7 separate regions of the Homo sapiens genome follow, and all the other regions are linked to region 1. The links are contacts of gene promoters, found by promoter capture Hi-C in blood cells and fetal thymus (Javierre and others, 2016). All regions are on one chromosome and are shown on one strand. Each heading gives the region's core, a stretch centred on a gene start or on the middle of the fragment in contact. The rest is flanking DNA. Distances are from core to core; before and after follow the strand shown. Region 1 holds the start of INSL6 (insulin like 6). Region 2 overlaps PDCD1LG2 (programmed cell death 1 ligand 2). Region 3 overlaps PDCD1LG2 (programmed cell death 1 ligand 2). Region 4 overlaps RIC1 (RIC1 partner of RAB6A GEF complex). Region 5 overlaps RIC1 (RIC1 partner of RAB6A GEF complex). Region 6 overlaps INCR1 (interferon stimulated noncoding RNA 1). Region 7 overlaps PDCD1LG2 (programmed cell death 1 ligand 2).

What was found. Contacts are between HindIII fragments. The CHiCAGO score rates a contact against its expected background, and 5 or more counts as called.
Region 2: a fragment that was not itself captured here is called in contact with the fragment with the promoter of INSL6 in region 1 in 5 of 17 cell types (naive CD4 T cells, total CD4 T cells, naive CD8 T cells and 2 more); the score reaches 9.5 in naive CD4 T cells.
Region 3: a contact is called between a fragment that was not itself captured here and the fragment with the promoter of INSL6 in region 1, in 1 of 17 cell types (activated CD4 T cells). The highest score is 5.6, in activated CD4 T cells.
Region 4: a fragment that was not itself captured here is called in contact with the fragment with the promoter of INSL6 in region 1 in 2 of 17 cell types (naive B cells and naive CD8 T cells); the score reaches 8.0 in naive B cells.
Region 5: a fragment that was not itself captured here is called in contact with the fragment with the promoter of INSL6 in region 1 in 1 of 17 cell types (naive B cells); the score reaches 5.1 in naive B cells.
Region 6: a fragment that was not itself captured here is called in contact with the fragment with the promoter of INSL6 in region 1 in 9 of 17 cell types (activated CD4 T cells, total B cells, total CD4 T cells and 6 more); the score reaches 11.7 in activated CD4 T cells.
Region 7: a fragment that was not itself captured here is called in contact with the fragment with the promoter of INSL6 in region 1 in 1 of 17 cell types (naive B cells); the score reaches 5.3 in naive B cells.

Annotation. Positions count from the first base shown.
Region 1 is chr9:5,183,083-5,187,085 of GRCh38, forward strand. INSL6 (insulin like 6) reads right to left here and starts at 2,557. Exons shown (of 2, transcript NM_007179.3): 1 at 2,232-2,557. The coding sequence starts at 2,520. The HindIII fragment of the contact is 2,408 bases long and covers 532-2,939 here.
Region 2 is chr9:5,567,016-5,571,059 of GRCh38, forward strand. It overlaps PDCD1LG2 (programmed cell death 1 ligand 2), which reads left to right. Exons shown (of 7, transcript NM_025239.4): 7 at 2,939-4,044. The coding sequence ends at 2,944. The region is part of intron 1 of INCR1 (interferon stimulated noncoding RNA 1); the gene reads right to left. Among named protein-coding and RNA genes, the nearest start is that of PDCD1LG2, 59 kb to the left of the region's middle. RefSeq lists an enhancer at 2,531-2,620. The HindIII fragment of the contact is 3,350 bases long and covers 1-2,990 here.
Region 3 is chr9:5,536,105-5,540,097 of GRCh38, forward strand. All of the region lies in intron 3 of PDCD1LG2 (programmed cell death 1 ligand 2), which reads left to right. All of the region lies in intron 1 of INCR1 (interferon stimulated noncoding RNA 1), which reads right to left. Among named protein-coding and RNA genes, the nearest start is that of PDCD1LG2, 28 kb to the left of the region's middle. The HindIII fragment of the contact is 1,498 bases long and covers 1,817-3,314 here.
Region 4 is chr9:5,685,245-5,689,005 of GRCh38, forward strand. The region is part of intron 2 of RIC1 (RIC1 partner of RAB6A GEF complex); the gene reads left to right. Among named protein-coding and RNA genes, the nearest start is that of INCR1, 57 kb to the left of the region's middle. The HindIII fragment of the contact is 170 bases long and covers 2,186-2,355 here.
Region 5 is chr9:5,644,447-5,648,674 of GRCh38, forward strand. All of the region lies in intron 1 of RIC1 (RIC1 partner of RAB6A GEF complex), which reads left to right. Among named protein-coding and RNA genes, the nearest start is that of INCR1, 17 kb to the left of the region's middle. The HindIII fragment of the contact is 2,313 bases long and covers 1,078-3,390 here.
Region 6 is chr9:5,624,757-5,628,804 of GRCh38, forward strand. The region is part of intron 1 of INCR1 (interferon stimulated noncoding RNA 1); the gene reads right to left. Among named protein-coding and RNA genes, the nearest start is that of RIC1, 2.3 kb to the right of the region's middle. RefSeq lists an enhancer at 2,541-2,760. The HindIII fragment of the contact is 1,557 bases long and covers 776-2,332 here.
Region 7 is chr9:5,520,165-5,523,915 of GRCh38, forward strand. It overlaps PDCD1LG2 (programmed cell death 1 ligand 2), which reads left to right. Exons shown (of 7, transcript NM_025239.4): 2 at 2,369-2,437. The coding sequence starts at 2,383. All of the region lies in intron 2 of INCR1 (interferon stimulated noncoding RNA 1), which reads right to left. Among named protein-coding and RNA genes, the nearest start is that of PDCD1LG2, 12 kb to the left of the region's middle. The HindIII fragment of the contact is 251 bases long and covers 1,463-1,713 here.

The DNA.
Region 1 (4,003 bases), core at 1,307-3,806:
CTTTCCAGCCATATTCATATATAAAAATGATGTCATAATTATGTATTCTATATTAGAAACATATACATCTCTGCAACTTCTAAATTATTTCCTAGAAATTAACAGGACAGAATAAATGTCATCTTCCCTTATAGATTAATAATTTTTAAAATTATAATACAATTCATGTTGATAACCTAACCCATTTTTCCTTCCTCTACATATTTCAATACAACTGTGGTTTTACTGTTACATAGTATTTCCACTTCAGCAAACTGTCTTTTACATAGTTTCCATAGTAGCAGGTTTTGTGGGTATAACAATTTTCAAATATTTTCAGATACATTTTTATTTTCTACAAGTCTTGTTTCATTGCAGCTTCCTGCTCATTATTAATGACATTTATTCTTCCAGGGGAGTGTGAATAATACTTAAAACAAAAGGATCATTAACAAGCTGAGTTTTAAGGTTGAACATTTTTATTAAGAAAACTGTCTTTAGAGCACTTTGTTGAGAAAAGGCATTCCAACCTCTCTTTAAATAACAGCCTCAAGCTTGGAGGTCTAAAAATAAAATTTTGACTACAGTATTATAGCATAGGTAGTGAAAGCACAGTATTTGATGTGAGAGAAATGCCCACCCAACATAAAGCAGAAAGGGAAGGCTCTCCTTGCACTCCTGGGAGAAAAGAACAAGAAAGAGGAGTTTAAAAGAAAAAAAAAAGAGAGAGACAGACAGTAAACTGGACCTTGTTACTCAAAAGTGTGGGCCACGAACTAGCAGCACCTGGGAGCTAGTTAAAAACGAAAAATATCAGGCCCCACCCCAGGTCTACTAACTCAGAGTCGGTAAATTAACAGGATTCCCAAATGATTCATATGCACATTAAAGCGTGAGAGTCACTGAACTAAAGTAAAAGTAGAAGACTGGGGAGAGACACTTCCTTCATTATAACAGAAGGACAAGGTGAGGTTTGTATGTGGGTTAGTTTGATGGGTCGGTTTGAAAATGATCATGAATCAGTCTCATGGTTTCTGTCTTTAAAAGTTTTTATTCTTTCAGCAACAGTGACTTTATAAATTCTATTCATTCATTCCAAAAAAGCTAATGAGTGCCTACAATGTGCATTGTTTGACTTTTTTCAGTCCTCTACATTAGGGTCTCTTTTTGGCATGATAGTTTACTCATTTCCTTAATTTCAGAAATCTTCACTTTTACAAGATTTGTCCAAATCAAATCAACTGAATTACTGTAAAAGGCAGTAATCTTCTTCCTATGGATACACTATAAACAAAGTGCAATTTCTTTTAAAATGACAAATCATACTGGGACTAAAATGTCTTAGTCACAAAATGTAAAAACATAGTAAGATATACCAATGAATCTGGAACAAGAATATCCTTCCTGCAGACTGCTTGAAAGCATCAAGTATAAATTCAGCGCATATTAAACACATGCGATGTGCTAGGCCATCTGCTAAGCATTTCAGACAAAAATATGCATGAAATAGTCCCTATAATACAGTATGGTATATAGGGCTGACTTTATGGGACTGAAACCTATGTAGTCACACAGGCCTTGCATTTGGTTTAAATGTTCCTTTGTTGTTCTGAATAAATTTACCTTTGAAACTTTAAGTGAATGAAATACAAGTACGTAAACTCTTAAATGAAGCCTGATAGGAGAACGGACCAGGCCTATCTCCTGGTACGTGACCAGGGGATATGGACAAGTAAGGAAAACAGTTTTATATTTTACTACCTTTATTTTCATGGCCCTTTCCTGCTTTTTTGAACAAGGTACTCTGCATTTTTATCTTCTACAAGGTTGGGCTGATTCTGTAGCCAATGACGACAGTCAAATACAACTATGTGCTAGATACTGTGGTAGAAAGGACAATGGAGCCATTGGCCATGAAAAGGTCAATGATGACTTCACAGGGAAAATGATACTTAAGTTGGGCTTTGAAGGACAAAAAGGAGTTTGCCAGATGACTGGCACTCCAGAAAAGAACAACATTCTTACATAAATATGTAGACTTACAAGTGTACATTTATTTCCTCCAAGTTAAAAAAAAAAGCGCTTCATTGAAGTTTTGTATATTTTCAATACACTGTTTTTTACAATTTTTTAAAGAGCTGTGTACTAGGCACAAATTCCACTTCCTGGGGAAGCTCACCTTCTGGCAGAGCAAATGCAGGAATAAGAAATATACAGAGGTGAACAAACATGCCTTCGGTTTCGATTTTTACCTGGGTTTGTGCCTCTTCCCCGGGCCGGGGAAGCGGTTTGCGGGCTTTCGAACTGGTATGGGCTGTAGGCTTCGACCTTCTCCGAGGCCTGTGCAATCAACCGTGAGAAAGGGGTTTCCTCCTCGAAACGGAACTGGCTCCAGTTGGCATGGCCGCAGAGTTTTTCTATTTCTTTCACCAAGTACCTGCCGCACAGCTTCCTGGCACTGCTGATGTCGCTCAGTTCACGAGAAAACCGAACCAGCAGGAGTCCAAGCCACAGCAGGGACAAGCGGAGGAGCCGCGGCATCCCTGTGACCCCAGGCTAGTCCTCCGCGTTGTGCAATGGCGGTCGGCCGGACCCTGCTCCCTGTCTGCGCCTGCGCCAGGCCGAGCGGCGCGCACAAACACTGCGGAATTCCGAGCGCGTGGGGGCGTCGCCAGAACTTCAAGGGAAGGCGCGCGCCGGCTGCGTCAAGGCTTTCCCGCCAGCTCAGGGGTCTCAGGTGGTCGAAGGTAGCAGGCCCTGGCTCCTAAAATGAAAGCCAAAAATCCCCTCACTACCCCGCCACCCCCTAGTTTGATTCATTTTTCTTTCCTTCCTCAATGGGAGATTCCTCACCAAGCGTGAGAACATAGGATCCCTGTTACCTGATAACGTAGGTTAAAAAGTGTTGCTCCCTCCACCTGGAATGCGTTTCTCGTTCTTGTTTGCCAGGTTGTTAATAAAGCTTCGTCTCCCTCACAGAAACCCCCTGTCATCTCTTTCACGGTGTTAATCGACCTGTTTCCATTTGTGGGCGTGTAACCTCTTTCCTGAGACCCCCGCTTCATGAAGGCAAGGGCCTGCGTCTGTTCTTGCTTTCCATCGTACCCCGGGATCTGGCATTTAGCTGGCAATCAAATATGTGGTGAAACGTTTAAGTGTTGCATATGGCCATGTGCGTTTAGTCAGGTTCAAAGCTTCTTCAGAAAAATCCTACTGGTTCACAGGGAGGCATGGGCCTTAGCCTCAATCTCCAGAAAAAAGAAGTAGGGACGCTGTCTTGAGGTACCTGGGATGGAAATCTGGTTCTTTCGGTTAGATAATGTAGAGGATTGTGTATTACCAAATTAACTTGTGACAGGGACCCCTAGAGGATTTGCCTTGTAAGAATAACAGCATGCAGCATGAAATGCTCATTTAGGTGAGATAATTTTGCTCAGTTAGGAGGGAAGGGGCAGGGAAGCGAAGCGCAATCGGCATAGGTAGCTTTATCATTTTAAATGAAGTTCTGTGTTACTAGTGTGTTGGCGTGGAAGGATGTACTATCGGCCACAAGAGGGCATTCGGTGGCTGTCTCAGGAATAAGGTTCAGGATGCTGAAGCCACAGGTGCAAGCTTATCAGTGATCTCACCATTTCCCTATACAATTTTATTTTTTTCTCCCTTTCTTTTCTGTCTTCTGACTCTATGTCTTTTTCTTAATTTTCCGTTTCCCTATCTTTTCCCTGCTTCCCAGTGGCATCCATGAATGCTGTTAAATTAACTGCCAATTGGATTTTTTAAATGGTTGATATAATATAGATTAGTAAAATTTAATCACCTTCCTTAAAAAATAACTTATGTCCAAACTATAGTGGGCCATGAGTCCTAGTCAGAACTTTATCAGGTAAGGTTTTTGAGAACGGAAAATATTAATCATACTGAGATGAATGTAAGCCTTGTGGTAACCACAAGGCAAAACCTATAGTAGATATATAAAAGATAAAAAAGAAGAAATCAAGCATACCACTACAGGATATCATCTAAT
Region 2 (4,044 bases), core at 66-2,565, 380 kb after region 1:
TTGTTGTACTTCACTACATTTTTGAGTGCCCTGATGTATTACTTTCAAAAAGAAGAAGAATACTTTCTGAAGCCATTTCAACCATCCCCACTCACCTCTCTAGATCCCAGTAACCAAATACATTATATAGGACTCTTCATCAGTCCTTATCAAGTTTAGGAAGGGCGATGCTATACCTTCTTTAAAGGACACCTACCAATGTCTTAGTTGCCTTTCAAAGACTCCTAGCACAGCTAAATGTGATGGATATGCTCTAAGGATATAAGAGCTGAAGTGACTTGCATAAGGTCATATCATAACTTACTGTTAGAAATGGAGCTAGAACTCAGACCCACTGAGTCCTTGTCTGTGACACACTGCCCTTTCCATTTGTGGAAGTTGTTCTTGTATCTAACTTTATCTGTGCTACTATTTGGGCCTAGCCATTCTCCCTCTTATGCAGACAAGCAGATAAACAGTAAAACTTTAGGAGTGGATTATGATACCATAGATATATATCATCTATCCTTTACAAAATAGTTATTACAGTCATCAAGCCTTGGTTAGAGTTTACAGACCATGTATCCTAGCTACCTCATTTCACAGATTATGACATTGGGGGCTAAGAGATATTAAGTGACTTCCTTAAGTGAAACAGTAGCAGACCAAAAGAAGTCATGATTCCCAGCATAGTGCTACTCACTCATTTATTCATTCATTCACCCACTCACAAACCTGTATTAAGTTTCTGTTATTTGCAAGACCCTGTCAGTTAGGCCATGTGGGAACTAGAAGGATGAATTTATCAGTCATCCAAGATTCTTACAATTAAGTATTACCGATAAGGTACTCAAGAAACAGTTCTCATTCACATAATTTGGGTTAAAACAAAAAGAAGCCAGCTTTCTATATACTTTTGGTCCAGTCTTTACGTTTTTTGTTTTGTTTTGTTTGTTTTCATGAGTATCCCGACTTCCTTCTAAGAACTTCCACCTGAGAACTGACCACAGCGTCAGCATTCCACATGGGTGTGTTTCCTTTCCCCTTTCCCATTTCAGTGGTTTCCAATTTCTTTTTCTTTTGGCACTATAAACCTTTCGCAAAGGAAATATTAGACAGAACTCCTACATGTCAAGCAAATTAAAATAGTGGTGAAATTAGAGTGGAGGACATAATCACCCTATCATATAGGCTATTTGTCCATATCATATTTGTCCCTACAAAGGCCTCTAAGGCAGGGGTCCCCAACCTCTGGGCCGCAGACCGGTACCAGTGGCCTGTTAGGAACTGAGCCACACAGCAGGAGGTGAGCGGGAGACAAGCGGGCACTACTACCTGAGCTCTACCTCCTGTGAGATCAGCAGCAGCATTAGATTCTCATAGAAGCGTGAATCCTATTGTGAACTGCACATATGAGGGATCTAGGTTGTGTGCTCCTTATGAAAATCTAATGTCTGACGATCTGAGGTGGAACAGGTTCATCCTGAAACTATAGCCTACCCCCACTCCCACACCCAATCCATGGAAAAATTGTCTTCCCTGAAACCAGTCCCTGGTGCCAAAAATGTTGGGGACCACTGCTCTAAGATACCTTGTGCTTCTTGGAACATATTTGGAAAATCATGTAGCTCTCAAATTATCCCTATGTCCTGAAGCCCACCTTACCATCAATCCTCAGAAATACCCAACCCATGTCAGGCAACTTCACACTTTCTTTCTTCAGGCAGCACAGTTGTCTCAGGGAGGGAGGAGAGTGCTATTAGCAAGAGGAGTCACTAACAGCTTCACTCACCTGTGCCCATGAATTTTTAATGGTGTGAAAAGTCTGTGTATTTTTTATGGTTCTCTATGGCTCATATAAGAGGGACAAACAATACATGAAAGTTCAGAGATGGGGACAAATATCACTTTAAGCTGGGGATAATCAGGGAAGAAGAAAGTTTTCATGGAGAAGGTGACTTTTGAATCAGGAAGAAATGGAAACAGCAAACTCTTCTAGATAGAGGAGACACTAACAGGAAAGGCAGAGAGGCAGGAAGGTGTGGGAAAGTGCACGTGACCCCGTTCAGAGAGAAAGCCAGGTGTGAGATAAGGGGGAAAGACTGTTAGGGCATGTATTGTAAACCACTAATTCCAGGCAAAAGTTAGATTTTACTTACTAAGCAAGAGTGCTTCAGTTAGATCCTAGCAGGAAATGGAGGGTATGCTTAGAAGAGGTAACTGAGGCAAGTTTAATTTATAAAGGTGTGTGCAGCATTAAGGGAAACCAGCAAGGGATACTGAGCATGCCAGGATGCAAGAGCAGGCAGGGAAGGTGACTATTCCTAGGTCTGAAGGAGAAAGGGGAGGGAGCAGTTCCCAGAACCCTAGTAAAAATGGCAATGAGAAAGGTCCATCTGGCAGGACCTATGGTCTTTAACAGAGGGACAAAGTCAACCCACAACTTGTCTGGGAGGTTGCTGAGGAATAGATACCCCAACCTCTCTCTCAACCCACTGCAACACTCTTTTTCCCCTAGACTGAGCCCAGTCAAAGACAGAGGGAGGAGCCCAGTGATGCAGTCTGCAATGTCATCATCCTGGAGCATGAATAGAGTGCAGCAGGGTGAATAATGAGTCTGCAGGAATTAATAGAAATATCTGACACAATAGGGAACTATAAGAGGTTTTGAATAGGAGAGGCCCCTGAAATGTGCTCCAATATTACTGAACTATGTGTGGCCCAAAGAATGGAAGAGGAACAGCTCTTGCAATAGGTCTGAGGAGAGAAGCTGAAGACTTGGACTAGGGCAATGGTAAAAACTGTGGAAAGAAGTTTTAAATGAAAAGTTTTAAACCATGCGGCTTCCAGCTAGATGAACTTTTTTAAAAAAATTAGTTCCTCACTCAAATTTTGGGGAGGTTATATATTTTCTAATCATAAAAAATGATTTTTCTTATTTGTGGGCTTTTCTCCCCAGATCTGAACCTGTGGTCTTGGGAGCCAGGGTGACCTGATATGACATCTAAAGAAGCTTCTGGACTCTGAACAAGAATTCGGTGGCCTGCAGAGCTTGCCATTTGCACTTTTCAAATGCCTTTGGATGACCCAGCACTTTAATCTGAAACCTGCAACAAGACTAGCCAACACCTGGCCATGAAACTTGCCCCTTCACTGATCTGGACTCACCTCTGGAGCCTATGGCTTTAAGCAAGCACTACTGCACTTTACAGAATTACCCCACTGGATCCTGGACCCACAGAATTCCTTCAGGATCCTTCTTGCTGCCAGACTGAAAGCAAAAGGAATTATTTCCCCTCAAGTTTTCTAAGTGATTTCCAAAAGCAGAGGTGTGTGGAAATTTCCAGTAACAGAAACAGATGGGTTGCCAATAGAGTTATTTTTTATCTATAGCTTCCTCTGGGTACTAGAAGAGGCTATTGAGACTATGAGCTCACAGACAGGGCTTCGCACAAACTCAAATCATAATTGACATGTTTTATGGATTACTGGAATCTTGATAGCATAATGAAGTTGTTCTAATTAACAGAGAGCATTTAAATATACACTAAGTGCACAAATTGTGGAGTAAAGTCATCAAGCTCTGTTTTTGAGGTCTAAGTCACAAAGCATTTGTTTTAACCTGTAATGGCACCATGTTTAATGGTGGTTTTTTTTTTGAACTACATCTTTCCTTTAAAAATTATTGGTTTCTTTTTATTTGTTTTTACCTTAGAAATCAATTATATACAGTCAAAAATATTTGATATGCTCATACGTTGTATCTGCAGCAATTTCAGATAAGTAGCTAAAATGGCCAAAGCCCCAAACTAAGCCTCCTTTTCTGGCCCTCAATATGACTTTAAATTTGACTTTTCAGTGCCTCAGTTTGCACATCTGTAATACAGCAATGCTAAGTAGTCAAGGCCTTTGATAATTGGCACTATGGAAATCCTGCAAGATCCCACTACATATGTGTGGAGCAGAAGGGTAACTCGGCTACAGTAACAGCTTAATTTTGTTAAATTTGTTCTTTATACTGGAGCCATGAAGCTCAGAGCATTAGCTGACCCTTGAACTATTCAA
Region 3 (3,993 bases), core at 1,316-3,815, 350 kb after region 1:
CTGGTACAAAGAAGGACAAACTAGAGGGACTGGACATGAGGATGAATATTGTGTTCGCCCTTATCCTTGGGCAGGTTATTTTGCCTTTCATAACCTCACATTTTGCTTATTTGTAGAAGACGAACAATAGTAGTACCAAACACACAGGATTGTTGTCAACATTGAGAGAGATAATGAACATAAAGAACTGAGCATGGTACCCGGCATATAATAAGTGTCCAGAGACTTGGTTAAAAGACCCTCAGTTGTTACAGGGGCAGTGACCTCCTCACACCTCAACCATCAATGAGTCACCAGGAAAGCCATTAGCCTAGATGTAACTGTTTTCTATCTTTATTGCATTTCCTACATCCAGGCAGCAGCTGGGAGGAACTCTAGAACACTGAAGTTTGTCTGAGTTCCCTTAATGTAAGGCTGTACATTCTCAGGATGCCTTGATGTACTCGAATATCTGCAACCCTAAATCACCACCTCTGTTTTTATTGATCTCTATCTGAATGCTGTATTAATGGGCCAGGCCTTCTGCCCATTCTCTCAAACTGAGAACTGTCTCTCATTCCTGGGGAGGCACCCTGCCTACTCCTTACCTAGATCAGGGATTTCTCAGTTGTGGAGAGATTTGTTCCTTATAGTGTTGGTCATCAAACTGGGATATTTGGGGATTACAAAGACTTTTCAAGGGATGTATGGGCACAGGCAGTTTTAGGAAGTGAGTTCCTAGATCCTCATCTTCCCCAAATACTCGTTCCCAAAATTGACGAGCCTGACAATGTGCATGCCAGGCAAGGCTCTTGGGGTTCCCCTAAAACACTTCCTCTTTTAAGCCTACCACTCACTCATCATGAATATAGTCCATTGTCCCAGGGTGTAAAACCCTCTATAGTGTTAAATAAAAGAATGATTGGGAACATTGACACCTGATGGAACTGTTATGACTAAAAACCCTTTTGCAAATAATGTGGTATCTAATTTTCTGCTTTCAACAAAATTGAAGGAGGCCCTTATAAAGTTAATAACTGATAATCAAAAATGAGTAATTTTTGCCATGTAAATCAGGTCAAAGAATGAAATGGCATTGCTGTAACGAAACTGCTTCCATTCCCATTGATTTACTCATACGAACAAGATTCCTTAGCCTTTATAAGCTACAAAAAAATGAAAAATAGAAATAGAATTGAGGCTGAATTCTATTATATAAAATCATTCCAACCATGTCATATGGTTCTTCGGATTCATGAATAATTTGGAAAAGAGAGCCATATCCATCTTATTAAGGGACACATTCCCAATAAATTTTCATCTTTCATGTTTAATAATTATCAATATTCATAACATTTTACATTTTGATCAAATATGTGTTAATAATAATAGAAATAAATGTCCAACAACGATAGACTGGATTAAGAAAATGTGGCACGTATACACCATAGAATACTATGCAGCCATAAAAAATGATGAGTTCATGTCCTTCGTAGGGACATGGATGAAGCTGGAAACCATCATTCTCAGCAAACTATCCCAAGGACAAAAAACCAAACACCGCATGTTCTCACTCATAGGTGGGAATTGAACAATGAGAACACATGGACACAGGGAGGGGAACATCACACACTGGGGACTGTTGTGTGGTCGGGGGAGGGGAGAGGGATAGCATTAGGAGATATACCTAATGTTTAATGACAAGTTAATGGGTGCAGCACACCAATATGGCACATGTATACATATGTAACAAACCTGCACGTTGTGCACATGTACCCTAAAACTTACTGTTAAAAAAAAAAATTAGATCTTAATGCAGAACACCCTGAACATTTAAAGCTTCATAGTCACAAGAGAAAAGTTTTCATTTCAATAGCTATAAATATTTTGTTGTTGTAAAGACATATAACGATAATCAATACAAAATCTGTCAAACAAAAATATGTTACATTAAGATAAAATTCTGTAGGGAAGGTGAAATTGGAAGTGAGTTTCAATGAATGAAAAGAAACAATTTAGACAGAGAAGAATTTTTTCATTTAATAATTTATTTATTTTTACTTAGAAGGAATTGAATAGATTAGGTTCCTTACCCAAAAAGCCTCTGTTATTTGTCTTATTTATTTATTCTCTTTTTTCCACATTCTCCAGTCTCATTCCCCTTTTTTAACACAGGAAATTATTCCAGCATGTTTCATACATATTCTTTTGTTTGTAAGAGCTTATTTAAAATATGTAATATTGTTTTAGATGCATATATTTTTTTTCTTGTGGAAACTATATTGTACTATATATATATATTTTAGAAATGGACACATTAGGCCGGGCGCGGTGGCTCACGACCGTAATCCCAGCACTTTGGGAGGCCAAGGCGGGTGGATCATGAGGTCAGGAGATCGAGACCATCCTGGCTAACATGGTGAAACCCTGTCTCTACTAAAAAATACAACAAAAATTAGCCGGGCGCGGTGGCGGGCGCCTGTAGTCCCAGCTACTGGGGAGGCTGAGGCAGGAGAATGGCGTTAAGCCGGGAGGCGGAGCTTGTAGTGAGCCGAGATCGCTCCACTGCACTCCAGCCTGGGCGACAGAGCGAGACTCTGTCTCAAAAAAAGAAAAAAAAAAAAAAGAAATTGACACATTAAGTTTATTGTGAAAACATGATTACAAGCAATAACAGATATAACAGCAGAAAAAATTGTGAAGTTATGTGCACCTTCTTTTGAGATCATTTTTTTGGGTATATGTGAATGTATTTTATCTTTTTTTAATTGACAATAATTGTACTTATTTATGGGATACATAGTGATGTTTCAATATATACAATGTATAGTGATCAGATCGGGGTAATTAGCATATTTATCATCTCAAATATTTATTATTTCTTTGTGTTGAGAACATTCAATGTACCCCTTCTGGCTATTTGAAGCTATATACTGTTGTTAAATATTTATATGTATTTTTCAAGGATAATGTTGTATATAAAAGATAACTTCTTTTATATTTAGTCACCTTTGGATACATATGTAAGAGTAAAATAATTGTTTTACTAAAAAAATTCATAAGATGCTGAACATTATATGTTTTTCCAGTATAGAAACTTATGAAAAATTATAAGAATCAACTTAATAGGTGAGAAGAGCATACTGCATCATACTTATTTTAGGAGGAATACAAGCAAAAAAAAAGTTGGACCATCACCTAAGAGTAGGCTACCCTGATCCAGGGTCTCTAAAAGAAGCAAGATAGATCTGAGGCCCCAATGAGGGTTCCCATGAATGAAGTAGGACTAGAAGAAGGACATGTTTTTATCTTAAAGTGCCTGATCCATGGCATAAAGCTTGAAAATGGGTTTGTTTATAGCACCTTCGTTGATGTCTGGGCAGAAATTCTTATCAAATATAATGAAAAGAGTTAATTTCAAAAGGACAGAACAAATTATGAGGTGGAATGACCGGAGATTCTGGAAGAGACAGTGATAAAGGACTGTGGTTTCTGAAAAGCCAGGTGGCACCTACATTTCTGGGGGCAATCCATCTGAGGAAGGGGCGGGAGCATGGCCAAAGAACAGAGAGGCCCCAGGAGCCCAGGGGTCTCTCAGAGGAGCTGGGGTTGAGAACTGGTCTGTGCAAAGGTTTCCAGACAGGGTTGCAGAGGAGGCACTAAAAACAAGAACACCAAGAGCCAAACCATCCTGAAGGCCTGGGCAGGGCAGGGGGATGGGAAGAGCCAACACCAGGAATGGGCTGAAGCTGACAGAAGTACTTCAAACCAGAAACAATGAATTTAAACTATGCCCTACCACAAATAGACTTAACAGATATTTACAGAACATTCTACCCAACAATCGCAGAATATACATTCTATTCATCAGCATATGGAACATTCTCCAAGATAGACTATATAGTAGGCCACAAAACAAGTCTCCATAAATTTAAGAAAATCAAAATTATATCAAGTACTCTCTTAGATCACAGTGGAGTAAAACTGGAAATAAACTCCAAAAGGAACCTTCAA
Region 4 (3,761 bases), core at 1,021-3,520, 500 kb after region 1:
ATGAGTTTCTTCACAGAATTGGAAAAAACTACTTTAAAGTTCATATGGAACCAAAAAAGAGCCCGCATCGCCAAGTCAATCCTAAGCCAAAAGAACAAAGCTGGAGGCATCACACTACCTGACTTCAACTATACTACAAGGCTACAGTAACCAAAACAGCATGGTACTGGTACCAAAACAGAGATATAGATCAATGGAACAGAACAGAGCCCTCAGAAATAACGCCACATACCTACAACTATCTGATCTTTGACAAACCTGAGAAAAACAAGCAATGGGGAAAGGATTCCCTATTTAATAAATGGTGCTGGGAAAACTGGCTAGCCATATGTAGAAAGCTGAAACTGGATGCCTTCCTTACACCTTATACAAAAATCAATTCAAGATGGATTAAAGATTTAAATGTTAGACCTAAAACCATAAAAACCCTAGAAGAAAACCTAGGCATTACCATTCAGGACATAGGCATGGGCAAGGACTTCATGTCTAAAACACCAAAAGCAATGGCAACAAAAGCCAAAATTGACAAATGGGATGTAATTCAACTAAAGAGCTTCTGCACAGCAAAAGAAACTACCATCAGAGTGAACAGGCAACCTACAACATGGGAGAAAATTTTTGCAACCTACTCATCTGACAAAGGGCTAATATCCAGAATCTACAATGAACTCAAACAAATTTACAAGAAAAAAACAAACAAACCCATCAAAAAGTGGGCGAAGGACATGAACAGACACTTCTGAAAAGAAGACATTTATGCAGCCAAAAAACACATGAAAAAATGCTCATCATCACTGGCCATCAGAGAAATGCAAATCAAAGCCACTATGAGATATCATCTCACACCAGTTAGAATGGCAATCATTAAAAAGTCAGGAAACAACAGGTGCTGGAGAGGATGTGGAGAAATAGGAACAGTTTTACACTGTTGGTGGGACTGTAAACTAGTTCAACCATTGTGGAAGTCAGTGTGGCGATTCCTCAGGGATCTAGAACTAGAAATACCATTTGACCCAGCCATCCCATTACTGGGTATATACCCAAATGACTATAAATCATGCCGCTATAAAGACACATGCACACGTATGTTTATTGTGGCACTATTCACAATAGCAAAGACTTGAAACCAACCCAAATGTCCAACAATGATAGACTGGATTAAGAAAATGTGGCACATATACACCATGGAATAGTATGCAGCCATAAAAAATGATGAGTTCATGTCCTTTGTAGAGACATGGATGAAATTGGAAATCATCATTCTCAGTAAACTATCACAAGAACAAAAAACCAAACACCGCATATTCTCACTCATAGGTGGGAATTGAACAATGAGATCACAGGGAGACATGAAGGGGAATATCACACTCTGGGGACTGTGGTGGGGTGGGGGGAGGGGGGAGGGATAGCACTGGGAGATATACCTAAGGCTAGATGACGAGTTAGTGGGTGCAGCGCACCAGTATGGCACATGTATACATATGTAACTAACCTGCACAATGTGCACATGTACCCTAAAACTTAAAGTATAATAATAAAAAAAAAGAATATGTTAATGAGGGATCTTGGCCTGTAGTTATAATGTCTTTGTCTGGTTTTGTTATGAGGCCTCATAAAATGAGATAGGAAGTGGTTCCTTCTCTTTGGTGTTCTGGAAGAGTCTGTATTCAACTGATATTATTTATTTCTTAAAGAGTTGGTAGAATTTACCAGTGATGCTGTCTCAGCCTAGAATTTTCTTTGTGGAAAGGATTTGAATTGGAATTATAATTTCTTTAACAGACATTGGCTTTTCAGGGTACAGATTTCTTTTCAGTGAACTTTGGTGGTTTGTGTTTATCAAGGAATTTGTCCATCTCATCCAAGTTGTTAAAATTATTGTCATATTAATAATGTGACCTCATTATTCTTTTAATACCTCTAGAATTTGTAGTGATATCACCTCTTTGATTTCTGTTAGTGGCTCTTTTTTGCCTGATCAGTGTGACCAGAAATATGTCAGTTTTAGTGATCTTCTAAAACAATAACAAAAGAACCCCAGATTTTTATTCATTGATTTTATTTTTCTGTTTTCTATTTCATTGATTACCACTCTGATCTCTGTTATTTGCATGCTTCCCCACCCTCCACCACTTGCTTTGGATTTCGTTTGCTCTAGTTTAATTTGTTTCTAGTTTAAGGTAGAAGCTTGTCATTGATTTGAGATTTTCCTTTTTTTCTAATATAAGTATTTTAAGGCTGTAAATTTCCTCTTTAGTACTGCTTTAGCAGCATCCCACAAATTTTGGGATGATGTATTTTTAAAATTTCCCTTTTTCTCCTTTGATTCATGGGTTATTTAGAAGTATGCAGTTAAGCTTCAAAATATTTGTGGGCTTTCCAGAATTTTTTTTATTTGTTTCTAGTTTTGTTCTATTGGGATCAGGAAACATATATTATACACATTTTATTTTTACACACGGTATAAACCCCAGCATACACTGCTATTATTCTTGTTTTAAAGCCTGTTATCTTTTAAAGAAATTTAAGTGAAGCAAATGAAATTTGAATTTAATTAAATATTTTTTTTCTGACTCTTACCCCTGTCATGCGGAGACTCTGTTTATATGTATATTGGGCTACATGAAGTTGTTCCTCAATTCACTGATTTTGTTTCTGTTTTATTTTGGGTTTTTTTGTGTGTGTGTGTGTTTCATTATGGATAATTTTTATTGCTGTGCTTTTCTGATCATTGTCTAACCTGTCATTCATCCAGCCAATGTCTTTTTCATCTCAGATATTTTAGTATTTCTGTTTCTAGAGTTTTGTTTGAGTTTTCTATATTGCCTAACCTTTGGAACATACAGAATATAGTTCACATTTGGAACATTATGAAATATAGCAAAAGGTTTTAATGTCCTTTTGTGCTAATTTTAACATCTGATTGAGTTATGCATTGTTTTGATTGGTTGATTTTTCATTATGTCTCATGTTTGTCTTACTCTTCCTGGACTCTTCAGCTTCTTCTCAACTCTGGAAGTCTGCCAGGCTTTGTCTTAGTGCGCCTTCTAAGTGTGCTGACCCAGAAATTCTCACAAGGCAGTAAGCTGGGTAAGAGTAGGAGGGTCACTTCAGTTGTTTCTTATCTCTCAAGGATGACTGGCCTTCATTGCTTGATGCCAGTGTTTTGAAAAGTATTTCATAGATTTTGTCTGTTTTTGTTGTTGTTGTTGTTCTTGTTTTTTTATGTGTGAAACCTTTGTTATGATTTGATTTGAAGCCATTTTCCTTTTGCTTCCATACTCTCCATATTGCAAGAACATAAAATTGCACATAAAGAATTAGAAAGATGATCTTATCTGAAGAATTTTCACCCTTTTGTTTTTGTATCTTACAGTGTTGAAACTCTAGTTTCAAATACATTATAAAATAGTAAAGTTAATGGTCAAAAAGAAAGCAAACCACCTGGTTTTGCTGAAGAAACTAAGTATTTTCTTGGTCATTCCTTTGAAAAACAGGAAGCCAGAATTAGAAAGTAATTTGAAACCTTGGATAATTTCTTGGTTTTCTTTGGTTCTACTTTGAGTACATGCCCACCTCCCTCTAAAATGATAGGAATTCAGTATTACTGTAAAGTAGTTTGGGCAAAACACTGCCACTTCACTCTGTTAGGCGTAAAAATGTTTGGCTGGAAACAGCTAAATATAATATTTTGTACTTACAGAAATGTAAAATGGTTGTTTGAACTTCACAAATGTATGTATGTCATGACGCAGATGTAT
Region 5 (4,228 bases), core at 984-3,483, 460 kb after region 1:
GCACAGTGGTAAAGTCTGGGCTTTTAGTGTAATCATCAGCTAAAGAATGTGCATTGTACACATAAGTAACTTCTTATCCTTTATCCCCTTCTCATCCTTCTGAGTCTGGTATCTGTTATTCCACACTCTATGTCCATGTGGTAGTATTCCTTTTTGTTGCTGAATATTTTTCCATTATTTGCATATGCCGCATTTCTATCTCCATTCACCAGTTGACAGGTATTTGAGTCATTGTGAATAATACTCTCATTTTGAATGATTGTGAGTAATACTGCTGTAAACATTTGTATACATGTCTGTGTGTGGATAAATGTTACTCTTCTAGAGAGATACCTAGGAGTGCAACTACTAAGTCATATGGCAAGTTTAACTTATTGGTAAAGTGCAAAACTTTGTTCCAAAGTGACTGTAGCATTTTACAACCCCACCAATAATGTATGGAAGTTTCTGTTTCTCCACACCCGTTCTAGAGGGTTTGTAGTGGTGTCTTATTTGTGGCTTTAATTTGGTGTTTTTCTAATGACTAAAAAATGTTTGGCATGATTTCATTTGCTTATTAGCTATTTATATATCTTATTCCATTTATATATCTTATTAGCCATTTCGCTATACCTATGTAGTTAATTATCTATTCAAATCCTTTGTCCATTTAAAAAAAAAACAGTGATCTGATCTTGGGTCACTGCAGCCTTGAACTCTTGGGCTCAAGTGATCCTTCCACCCCAGCCTCCCTAGTAGCTGGGACTACAGATGCCCAACAGCATGCCTCACTTATTTAAAAATTTTGTAGAGACAGGGTCTCCATAAGTTGCCCAGGCTGGTCTTAAACTCCCATCGTCAGGCTATCCTCCGAAAGTGTTGGAATTACAAGTATTAGCCATGATGCCCAGACCATTTTTGTTTAAGTGGAATATTTCTCTTATTATTCAGTTGTAAGAGTTCTTTATATGTCTTGATACAAATTATTTAGCAGATATATACTTCGCAAAGTTCTGCAGCATTAAGTACATTCACATTATCATGTAACCATTACCACCATCAGTATCCAGAACTTTCATTTTCATTTTCCCAAACTGAAGCTTCGTACCCTGTAAATGGTAATTCCTGGTTTTCTCATCCCATCAGTCCCTGGAAACTACTATTGTATTTTCTGTCTTTATGAATTTGATTTGTGTGGGTACCTCAGACAAGTGGAACCACACACTATTTGTCTTTTTGTGATTGACTTATTGCACTCAGCATGTCTTAAGTTTTATCCATGCTGTAGCATGTACCAAAATTTCCTTCCTTCTTAAGGCTGAATGATACTCCATTGTATATGTACATACTGCATTTTGTTTTATTCATTCATCTGTTGATGGACACATGGGCTGCTTTTACCTCTTGGATATTGTGAATAATGCTGCTGTGAACATGGGTAGACAAATATCCAGATCCCTGCTTTACTTCTTTTGGGTACATACCCAGAAGTGGACCTGCTGTTTCATTTGGTTATTCTATAGGTTTTTTTTTTTTTTGAGAAATTTTGCTTTTTTTTTTAATGTTAAGAAATTGCCACATACTGTGTTTCCACAGTGTACATCATTTTACATTCTTACCAGCAATACAGTGGTTCCAGTTTCTTCACATCCTTGCTAGTACTTGTTTTCTGTTGTTTTGATGATTGCCATTCCATTGGGTCCAATGTGGTATGTCATGGTTTTGGTTTGCATTTTCCTAATGGTTATTAATGTCGAGCATCTTTTATGTACTTGTAAGTCATGTGTATGCCTTCTTTGAAAGTGTCCGTTGAAGTTCTTTGCCCATTGTTTTTCTTGGGTTATTTTTTGTTGAGTTGTAACGCTTCATGTATTCTGGGTATAATCCTTTATCAGATATGTGGTTTCTAATACAGTTATGCTCCATGTAATGGCAGTTTGAGATGTTCCTGTCAACAGACTGCATTATATGATGGTGGCCCTATAAAATTCTAATGGAGCTGAAAAATTCTTCTTGCCTAGTGACAATAGAAATTTTATATAGTGTAATGCATTACTTTTTCTATGTTTAGAAGTATTTAGATATAGAAATATTTACCATTATGGCACAATTGCTTATGTATTCAGTATAGTAATATGCTATATAGGCTTGTATCCTAGGAGCAATAGGGTATACCTTATAGCCAAGGTGTGTAGTAGGCCATAACGTCTAGGTTTGTGTTAAGTACCCACTGTGATGTTCACATGATGACAAAATTGCCTAGTGATGCATTTCTTGGAACTTATCCCCTCTTGTTAAAGTGACACGTGACTGTATTTTCTTCTGTTTCAAGGGTTACATTTTTACTCTCTTTGTAGTAGCCATTGATGCACAGCATTTTCAATTTTGATGAAGTCTGTCTTACCTATTTTTTTTTGTTGCCTGTGCTTTCAGTATCATATCCAAGAAATTGTTTTCAAATCCAAAGTCATGAAGTTTTTGGCTTGTGTTTTCTTCTAAGAGTTTTATAGGGTGAGGTCTTCTGTTTAGAGTTTTGATCACTTTGAGACAATTTTTGTATATAGTATAAGATAAGGGTCCAGCTTTATTTTTTTACATGTGGATATCCAGTTTTCCCAGCACTGTTTGTTGAAAAGACTTTCTTTCCTTTTCCCCTTTGAATGGTCTAGGTAGCCTTGTGGAAAATAATTTGACTATTTATGCAAGAGTGTATTTCTGGACTCTGTGTTTTATTCTGTTGGTCTATATGTGTATCCTTGTGCCAGTACGACAGTATTTTGATTGCTGTAGTCTTCTAGTAAGTTTTGATGTCAGGAAATGTGAGACGTCCAACTTTGTTATTTTCAAGTTTGTTTTGTCTATTCGAGGTCTCTTGGGAATCCATATGAATTTTAGGATGGATTTTTCTGTTTCTGCTAAAAATGCTGTTAGGATTTTGAAAGGACTTACATTGACTATGTAGATTGCTTTGGGTAGTATTGACATCTTAACAATATTAAATTTTCTAATCCATGAACAGAGGATATCTTTTCATTTATTTGTGTCTAATTTCTTTCAGTGATATTTTGCAGTTTTCACTGTAGAAGTCTTTTGCCTGCTTGGTTAGGTTTAGTCCTAAGTACTTTATTCTTTTTGATGTTACGGTTTGCTGATTTTTCTGTGTTGATTTTGTATTCTGCAGTTTTCCTGAATTCATTCATTCTAACAGGTTTGTTGTTGTTGTGGAATCTTTAGAGTCTTTACATATAAGATCATGTCATCTTCAAACATATAATTTTACTTATTCATTTCCAAGTTAGATTTATTTTATTTCATTTCCTTGCTGATTGCTCTGGCTAGGGCTTTAGGTATTACGTTGAATGGAAGTGGTAAGAATGGGCATCTTTGTCTTAATTCTGACCTTTGAGGAAAAGCTTTCCATCTTTTCACCATTGAGTTTGATGCTGGTTACAAGTTGTTGTTTTGTTTTTTGTTTTTGTTTGTTTGTTTTTTGTTTGTGTGTGTGGGGGTGGGTGGTGGTGGTGGTGGTGGTGGTGGTGGTGGTGGTGATGGTGGTGGTGGTGGTGGTAGTGGTAGTGGTTTTTTCTTGCTCTGTTGCCCAGGCCGGAGTGCAATGGTGTGATCTCGGCTTACTGCAACCGCCACCTCCCGAGTTCAAGCAATTCTTCTGCCTCAGCCTCCCAAGTAGCTGGGATTACAGGCGCCCGCCACCATACCCGACTAATTTCTTGTATTTTTAGTAGAGACAGGGTTTTGCCATGTTGTTCAGACTGGTCTCGAGCTCCTGACCTCAGGTGATCCACCTGTCTCGGCCTCCTGAAGTGCTGAGATTACAGCTGTGAGCCATCATGCCTAGCCAGGTATAGGTTTTTTATATATGGCCTTTTTATTATCTTGAGATAGTTTGCTTCTATTCATAGTTTTTTGAGTATTTTTAGCATGAAAGGATATTGAGTTTTATCAGATGTTTTTTCTGACTCAATTGAAATGATTATCTGTTGGTGGACACTTAGGTTGATTCCATATCTTTGCTAATGTTAACAGTGTGGCTATGAACTTGGGGGTGCAAATATCCCTTTGATGTATTTATTTTGTTTCTTTTGGATAAATACCTAACAGTGGGATTGCTGGATCATATGGTAGTTCTATTTTTACTTTTCGAGAAATCTTCATACTGTTTTTGGTAATGGCTGTACTAATTTATATTTCCACCACAGGAGTTCCCTTTTCTCTGCATTCTCATCAACAT
Region 6 (4,048 bases), core at 304-2,803, 440 kb after region 1:
CATCTCAGGGGATAGGGAGGCCCAAAGAAAGGGAGAGAGACAGAGGAACTGCCAGTTGATGGAACAGTCAGAACACACATAACATTTATCGCTTAAGTTCTCCATCTTACATGGATGTGGTACATGACACCCCAAAACAATTACAATAGTTACAACAAAGACCACTGACCACAAATCATCATAACAGATATACTAATAATGAAAAAGTTTCAAATATTGAAAGAATTACCAAAATGTGATAAGAGCCATGAAGTGAGCATATGCTATTAGAAAAAATGGTGCCAATAGACTCACTCAACACAGGGTTACCACAAACCTTATATTAAAAAAAAAAATTGCACCAAATCATACTTCCATCAAGAGAGTATAAATGTATCCCCATTTCTTATGTGTACTCTTACCAACATTATTTCTAGTAATTTAAAAAGTTTATAAGTTTCATAGATGAAAACATGCACCTAGTAACTTTTTTTTTTTTTTTTGAGACAGGATTTCATTCCTTTCACTCAGGTGGGAGTGCAATAGCATGATCTTGGCTCACTATTACCTCTGCCTCCCAGGCTCAAGCAATTCTCCTGCCTTAGCCGCCTAAGGGGCTGGGACCACAGGTGTATGCCACAGTGCCGACTGATTTTTTGTAGAGACAGGGTTTCACCATGTTGCCCAGGCTGGTCTCAAACTCCCGGGCTCAAGTGATCCGCCCACCTCTGCCTCCGAAAGTGCTGGGATTACAGGCGTGATTACCCTGCCCGGCCCCCTACTAACTTTTATCATAAGCTTAATCTTAGAACAGAGTCCAAAAATTTTGACAGGAGTGGTGGTGGAAACTAGTAGAAAAAGGAGGAGAAGACCTAAGGCATGAGAACTGTCAGTATATTTTACAAAATAAAGTTAAAATATGATATTTGAAAGTTGAAGCCAGGCACGGCGGTTCACACCTGTTATCCCAGCACTTTGGGAGGCCGAGGCTGGTGGATCATTTGAGGCTAGGAGTTGGAGACTAGCCTGGCACATGATGAAACCCCATCTCTACTAAAAATACAAAAACTAGACAGGCGTGGTGGTGCATGCCTGTAGTCCCAGCTACTCAGGAGGCTGAGGCACAAGAATCACTTGAACCCGGGAGGCGGAGGTTGCAGTGAGCCAAGATTGCACCACTGCACTCCAGCCTGGGTGACAAAGCAATGCTCTGTCTCAAAAAAAAAAAAAAAAAGAAAGAAAGAAAAAGAAATGATGTTGAAAAATCCAGCCAATAACATTTTTGTCACAATAGGGGAACTCTCAAGTATAGGGTTTTGGAGAGTCAGATATTTCCTTTTCTCCCCGCCAGGGAGAAAGACCTAGAGGTTTCCCCCACTCCCTCTCACTGTCCAGAGCAATTACCACAATTTAGTTCAGCCTAAAGAGCATATGCTGTTGGAAAAACAGCAACAATAGACTTACTTGATGCAGGGATGCCATAAGCCTTAATTTTTTTTTTTTTTTTTGAGACAAAGTCTCACTCTGTTACCCAGCCTGGAGTGCAGTGGAGCGATCTCGGCTCACCGCAACCTCTGCCTCCCAGGTTCAAGCAATTCTCCTGCCTTATCCTCCAGAGTAGCTGGGATGACAGGTGCATATCACCATGCCTGGCTAATTTTTGTATTTTTTTTTTTTTAGCAGAAAGACAGGGTTTCACCATATTGGCCAGGCTGGTCTCAAACTCCCGACCTCATGATCCGCCTGCCTTGGCTTCCCAAAGTTTTGGGATTACAGGCATGAGCCACCGCGCCCAGCCAAACCTTAAATTTTTAAAAAAATCACACAGGAGGCTGGGTGCGGTGGCTCACGCCTGTAATCCCAGCACTTTGGGAGGCCGAGGTGAGCGGATCACCTGAGGTCGGGAGTTCCAGATCAGCCTGACCAACATGGAGAAACCTCGTCTCTACTAAAAATACAAAATTAGCCAGGCATGTTGGTGCATGCCTGTAATCCCAACTACTCCAGAGGCTGAGGCAGGAGAATTGCTTGAACCCAGGAGGTGGAGGCTGCAGTGAGCTGAGATGGCACCATTGCACGCCAGCCTGGGCAACAAGAGCGAAACTCCACCTCAAAAAAAAAAAAAAAGAAAGAAATCACACTGGATCTGTAGAAAGAACATCAGTTCTTTTCAGGCCATGTGAATTCAGGCACATCTACCACACCTGTCCTGTTTCCTCACTTGAGAAAGTGAGAATAACAACATCACACCAATGTCACTCACCTTGAATGTTTACTATGAATTAAATCAAGACAAGCATTTGGAATTATTTTGTGAATCTTAAGTGCTACACAGGAGTGTGGCAGAGGAATAAGCTTCTAAAGTCAGCAAGTAAGGTTAAAATTGAGTGCAATAAAAATTGCTTAGAAGTTCCTTAAATTGCCCATGAGCACAGTATGACAAACTTGAGACACATGAGAACAAAGACTCTCTGAGAGACAGCTGGGACAAACATTCAGTAACACTGCCAGCAAAATTGCTGCACTAGAACATTTTCATTTCCTCTTTCTGCCAAGTGCATAACTGAATCTAAGATGAAAGTATGATGCAACTTTGTTATTCTACAATTTGAAATTGGCAAGTTAAGAAACCTCTCTGGGCCTCTTTGTCTAATGGTGTAGCTCAGCTGGATCAGGGTTTCCTCCACGGTTTGTCTGACAAATACTGCCAGCTTACTATGCTTACTATGTTCCAGGCTGCTGTGTTGGACTGGGGGAGGGTAGACGCCAAGGAGACAATCTGATCGCAACAGGCTGGTGAGTGGTGAGGCAGTTTCAACCTCCATTTGAGGAATACAGGATTCTATCATCACCTTCCAGGGAATGCAGTGAATGTTTAGAAAAATTACAGAAAGTTACATATTTGGTTATGAATACCAGCTACAATGCTATATCTAATATGAATTAAGTTTCTTTGTTTCCTTTTTTCTGTTTATGTTGCTACTTTTTTTTTTTTTTTTGAGACAGTCTCACTCTGTTGCCCAGGCTGGAGTGCAGTGGAGGGATCTTGGTTTGCTGCAACTTCCGCCTCCCAGGTTCAAGCGATTCTCCTGCCTTAGCCTCCTGAGGAACTGGGATTACAGGCACCTGCCACCACGCCCAGCTAATTTTTGTATTTTCAGTAAGACGGGGGTTTCACGATGTTGGCCAGGCTGGTCTCGAACTGCTTACCTAAAGTGATCTGCCCGCCTCGGCCTCCCAAAATGCTGGGATTACAGGCGTGAGCCCCAGCACCCCGCCTACGTTGCTACTTTTTAATGTGGGGTCATTTTTTAAACCTGGCTTTTTAATTGAAAAAGTAATACAAACATATGGAAAAATTCAAACTGTACTAAAAAAGGTAGACAATGAGAAGCAAATCTTTCTTCTATTTCAGACTCCTCCTTCCCCCATTCCACACCATATCCCCTCAACCCTCCTTCTATTCAGACGTTACCACTGGGTCAATCCGTTGAAAGTTACAGCTAAGGTGATACCTGGGGTCCAAAAGCTAAATATGGACCTACGCTATCACCAGTCCCTTCCAGTTCTAAAACTAAGTCCAAGCCTTTTGCAGCACGAAAGAGATAGCCTCCTCTCATCTAAAGTTATGGCTGGTAAGGCTGAGACGAATGGAAATGGATTTCAAAGACATAGATTTAGAACTCCTGAAAGGCAGGAGACAGAACTCAATACTTTCATGGTGAGTGGTTTATTTACTGATTAAATAAACGCTCCCTTAGGGATGTAAGCTCCACACCGGCAGGAGCTTCATCACCAGCTCTCACTGCAGACCCCGGCATTAAAGGAGCTCACACGGTAAAAGCCCCTACCGCCCACCACAGCCACAGCGGCCGGCAGCCCAAAGTGGGAAACCGCGCCGGCCGTCACGTGACTCCAGCTCCCCCCGGCAACCGGCCCGCCCCCACCGAGACCCCGCCAATCCGGAAGGGAGGTCCAATTTGGCCAGGCCAGGGCGTGTTCCACCGGCCCAGTAGCCTTGCTGCTGCGTTATCCCTAGACTCGCCCCACTTGCCTCGGAGTCTCAGGC
Region 7 (3,751 bases), core at 338-2,837, 340 kb after region 1:
GACTCACACTTTCCAGTTTCAAAACTTACTACAAAGCTACAGTAATCAACGCTGTGTGGTACTGACATAGGATAGACATATAGTTCAATAAAACAGAATCGAGAGTCCAGAAATACATCCTTATATATATGATCAATTGATGTTTTGCAAGGGTGCCAAGACAGTTCAATAGGGAAAGAATAATTTCCTCAACAAATTGTACAGGCACAACTGAATGCCCACAATCAGTAGAACAAATTTGGAACTAAAGTTCTTATATTTAGGTTCTTGATCCATTTTGTTTAATTTTTGTATATGGTATGAGGTAAGGCTCCAAATTTGTTCTTTTGCATGTGGACATCCAGTTGTCCCTGTACAATTGCTCCATTTATATTTATCTTAGCAGAAAATACAGATGTAAATCTTTGTGACCTTGACTAGGCAATGGTTTCTTAGGTATTACACCTAAAGCACAAACAATAAAAGAAAAAAGTAGATAAATTGGATTTTTTTACTTAAAATCAATTTGTGTTTCAAAATTAAATAAAATCAAAATTAAATTAAAACATTTATCCTTCACAGGATTCTATAAAGAAACTGAAAAGACAATGTGCAGAATGGGAAAAAATATTTCCAAATCATATATTTGATAAATAGTTTGGCAATTCCTCAAAAAGTTAAATATAGAGTTACCATTTAATTCAGCAATTCTACTCCTACATATGTACCCAAGATAATTAAAAGTATACATAGACAAAGACTTGTATATGAGTTTTCATAGGAACTTTATTCATAATAGCCAACAAGCAGAAACAATCCAAATGACCATCAACTGATGAATGGGTAAGCAAAATGTGGTATATCATACAATGGAATATTATTTAGTCACAAAAAGGAACGCAGTGCTGATATATGCTACAATACAGATGAACCTTGACAACATTATGTTCGGTGAAAAAAGCCAGCCACAAAAGTCCACATATTGCTTGATTCCATTTTTATGAAATATCCAGAATAAGCAATTGATAGAGACAGAAACTAGATTAGTGGTTGCCAAGGGCCATAGGGAAAGGGAAGGGGAAATAGGAAGTTTCTGCTAATGGGTAAGGGGTTCCTTTTCAGGGTAATGAAAATGTTCTAAAATTGGATAATAGTGTTTGTTGCACAACTCCGTGAACATACTAAAAACCACAGAGTCGTGCACTTAAAAAAAGTTTGTGTTTTAAATATATATACACACTTAGACACATATAACCCTCTTTCGTATATCAATTATACTTTAATAAAGCTGTTGAAATTTTTAAAATAAAATTTTAAAACAAAGAAAAAATATATAAACTCGCCAACAGACCACTTCTCACCCCTACTAGCCCCTCTACTCTAAGCTATCAGCATTTCTGCAAACACATTCCTAACCGATCTCACTGCTTGTAATCTTGCCAGCAACCTCTCCCTCTCAGCAATAGTCTATTGCCTACACCAAAGCTTAGTTGTCTCTTAATGATGTAAATGAGGTTCTATCATTCTCCTGACCCAAACCCTCCACTGCTTTTCATCACACTCAGAGCAGCTCTGCTGTTGCCTGATTTAGATGTATGGCTCCAACAGATTTCCCCTGAAGAAATGATTCCATGGCTGATAAAAGTTGGAAAGCCTCCTCAGTTTCAGACCATTATCAGATTAGCTGTGTGCTCTGTCCCTTTCCTCAACCATAAGAAGTCCATGGATAAAGAAAGCTTCAGAGTAAAGGAGAAAGCATGGGAGGTACAGCAGGACCAAGGTGGGGCATTCGCAGCCCCCACCCTCATCAGAGCCAGTTCCCTACTCTCCCTGTCTAAACCTCTTAGTAAGAGGTAGTTCAAGAGAGGGGCAAACTCAATTCCAGCACTCAAAAGCACTTGACTACTTTGCTCAGTCAACTAGCAAGTATTTATTGAGAATGTAGCTCTGTTCTATGGAGTCTTATTTTCAAGTGTCAGACTCCCAGACATCCAGTCCAGGTAAAGAAGATGGTGTCCATTATTCATTTGACAAACAAAGTTGGGGTTCAAGGGCCAGCTATTGAAAAAAGCTATGGAAAGCTTCATGAGACGTGCAGGTAACTGCCAATATGTGTGGTTCACAAGGACTGGTTCATATTCAGAAACGGCCATTAGAAAAGGAAGAAGAACTTCTCATTTGGATTTATAAAGAGTGTCTTGTTTACTCTTAATTTATATCTTCTCTTCTCCAGGAAATCAACCTATAACTTCTCCTCCCAGCTCCACTCTACCATGGTCTGTCACCTTCCCCAAATGATTTGTTATTCCCCTGTTTTCAAAAGTGAACAAAGAACCAAAGACCCAGCAAAGTTTCACAAGGCCCTGAGACTTTCAATTGTCTATTTCAGATCAAATACAGAACATGATCTTCCTCCTGCTAATGTTGAGCCTGGAATTGCAGCTTCACCAGATAGCAGGTAAGAAAGGACAAAGGGAGAGGCTTAAGAAAGAAGAGCAGGTGGTGGTTCCTAGCCAAAGCCAAAAATGAGAATGTGGCCCTCAGGCTGAGGGCTTTCTTTGAGAGGACGTATGATTTCTGGGCTATTCCAAGCACCACAAAAAAAAAAAGAGTCCCCATGGTGGCTTATACATGCCAATGTCCCTATCTGACAGAAACGGTGACTGAGAATATTGCTCCATCTATTCCCACTATCCAGTGAGGGTAATGACAAGAAGACAGGATCACTCAGACCATGTAAATCTAAACTGATACAAGAGGGCAGGGGTTGAGTTCCCTTAAAGGTGAGATGCCAAGCAGCTGTCCCCTTCCTTTCTGGCAGGGAGAGTAAGGAGACAATGGCCAGGGAACACCGTTACTCTAAAGATAATGTCTTGAAGACATTCTGCATATTATTAGTTGTTTCTGTGAGTTTCTTTTTTGAAAAGCAACAATAGCAGCCGTTGGTCATTCATACCTTAATGTGGTTTACTGAGTCTTCCTAAAACCCAAATGAACAATGAACCTTAAGGCTATCCCTTTGGACTTGAAGAAAGGACTTCTATTGGAGGATGAGGGTGAGCAGAAAGAAAAGCAGTTTCACAGTTGGTTGTTCTCCTGGGGAAGGTAGTTCAGACCATTCGAGGGTGTAGTTAGAACCATGAGTGCACTATTTTGGATGAACACCAGGAGCTAAGAGAGTAACATAGAGGTGTGGACAGAGGATTAAGTCCTCAAGACAATAGCCCCAGCCCCATGGGAAATCATCTTTCTGCTCATGATTGAGAAATAATGGCTCCCTTGGCACTTGATAACCTTTCGAAGAGCTTTCTCCTCCCTACTAGCTGGTTCCAGATCACTCTTCACCCAGTCACATTCCTCTCACTCACTTGAGCTGCCCAGCCTGGTCTGGCACTAGAGACATGCACTTGGGGCCCTCCTCAAAGGAAGACCCTGAGATATTCTGCTTACTTCTACTCTGCTCCTGCCTGCAGGGCCAGCTAAAGGAACTTTTCATGTTTTCTTTGCAAGGAACCCTGCCTGGCTGGCATTTTAGAGACAAGCAAAAGGGGCAATAACTTCCTTGCTACAAAACAGCTTCAAGTTTCCATAGAGTGATAAGGGAAATGAGGGCCAAAAGACACTGTTCCCCATCCTGTGGCAGGACTGGGGGCTTCAGGAGAAAACTTGGGGAATGTGTAACCTCTGTGGGTTTGTAGCTTAAAAACACTGAGATCCTGGGTTTTCTGTCTTTGTTTTTTGCCTTTTCTCTTAGGAAAGGAGTGAGCTAGGG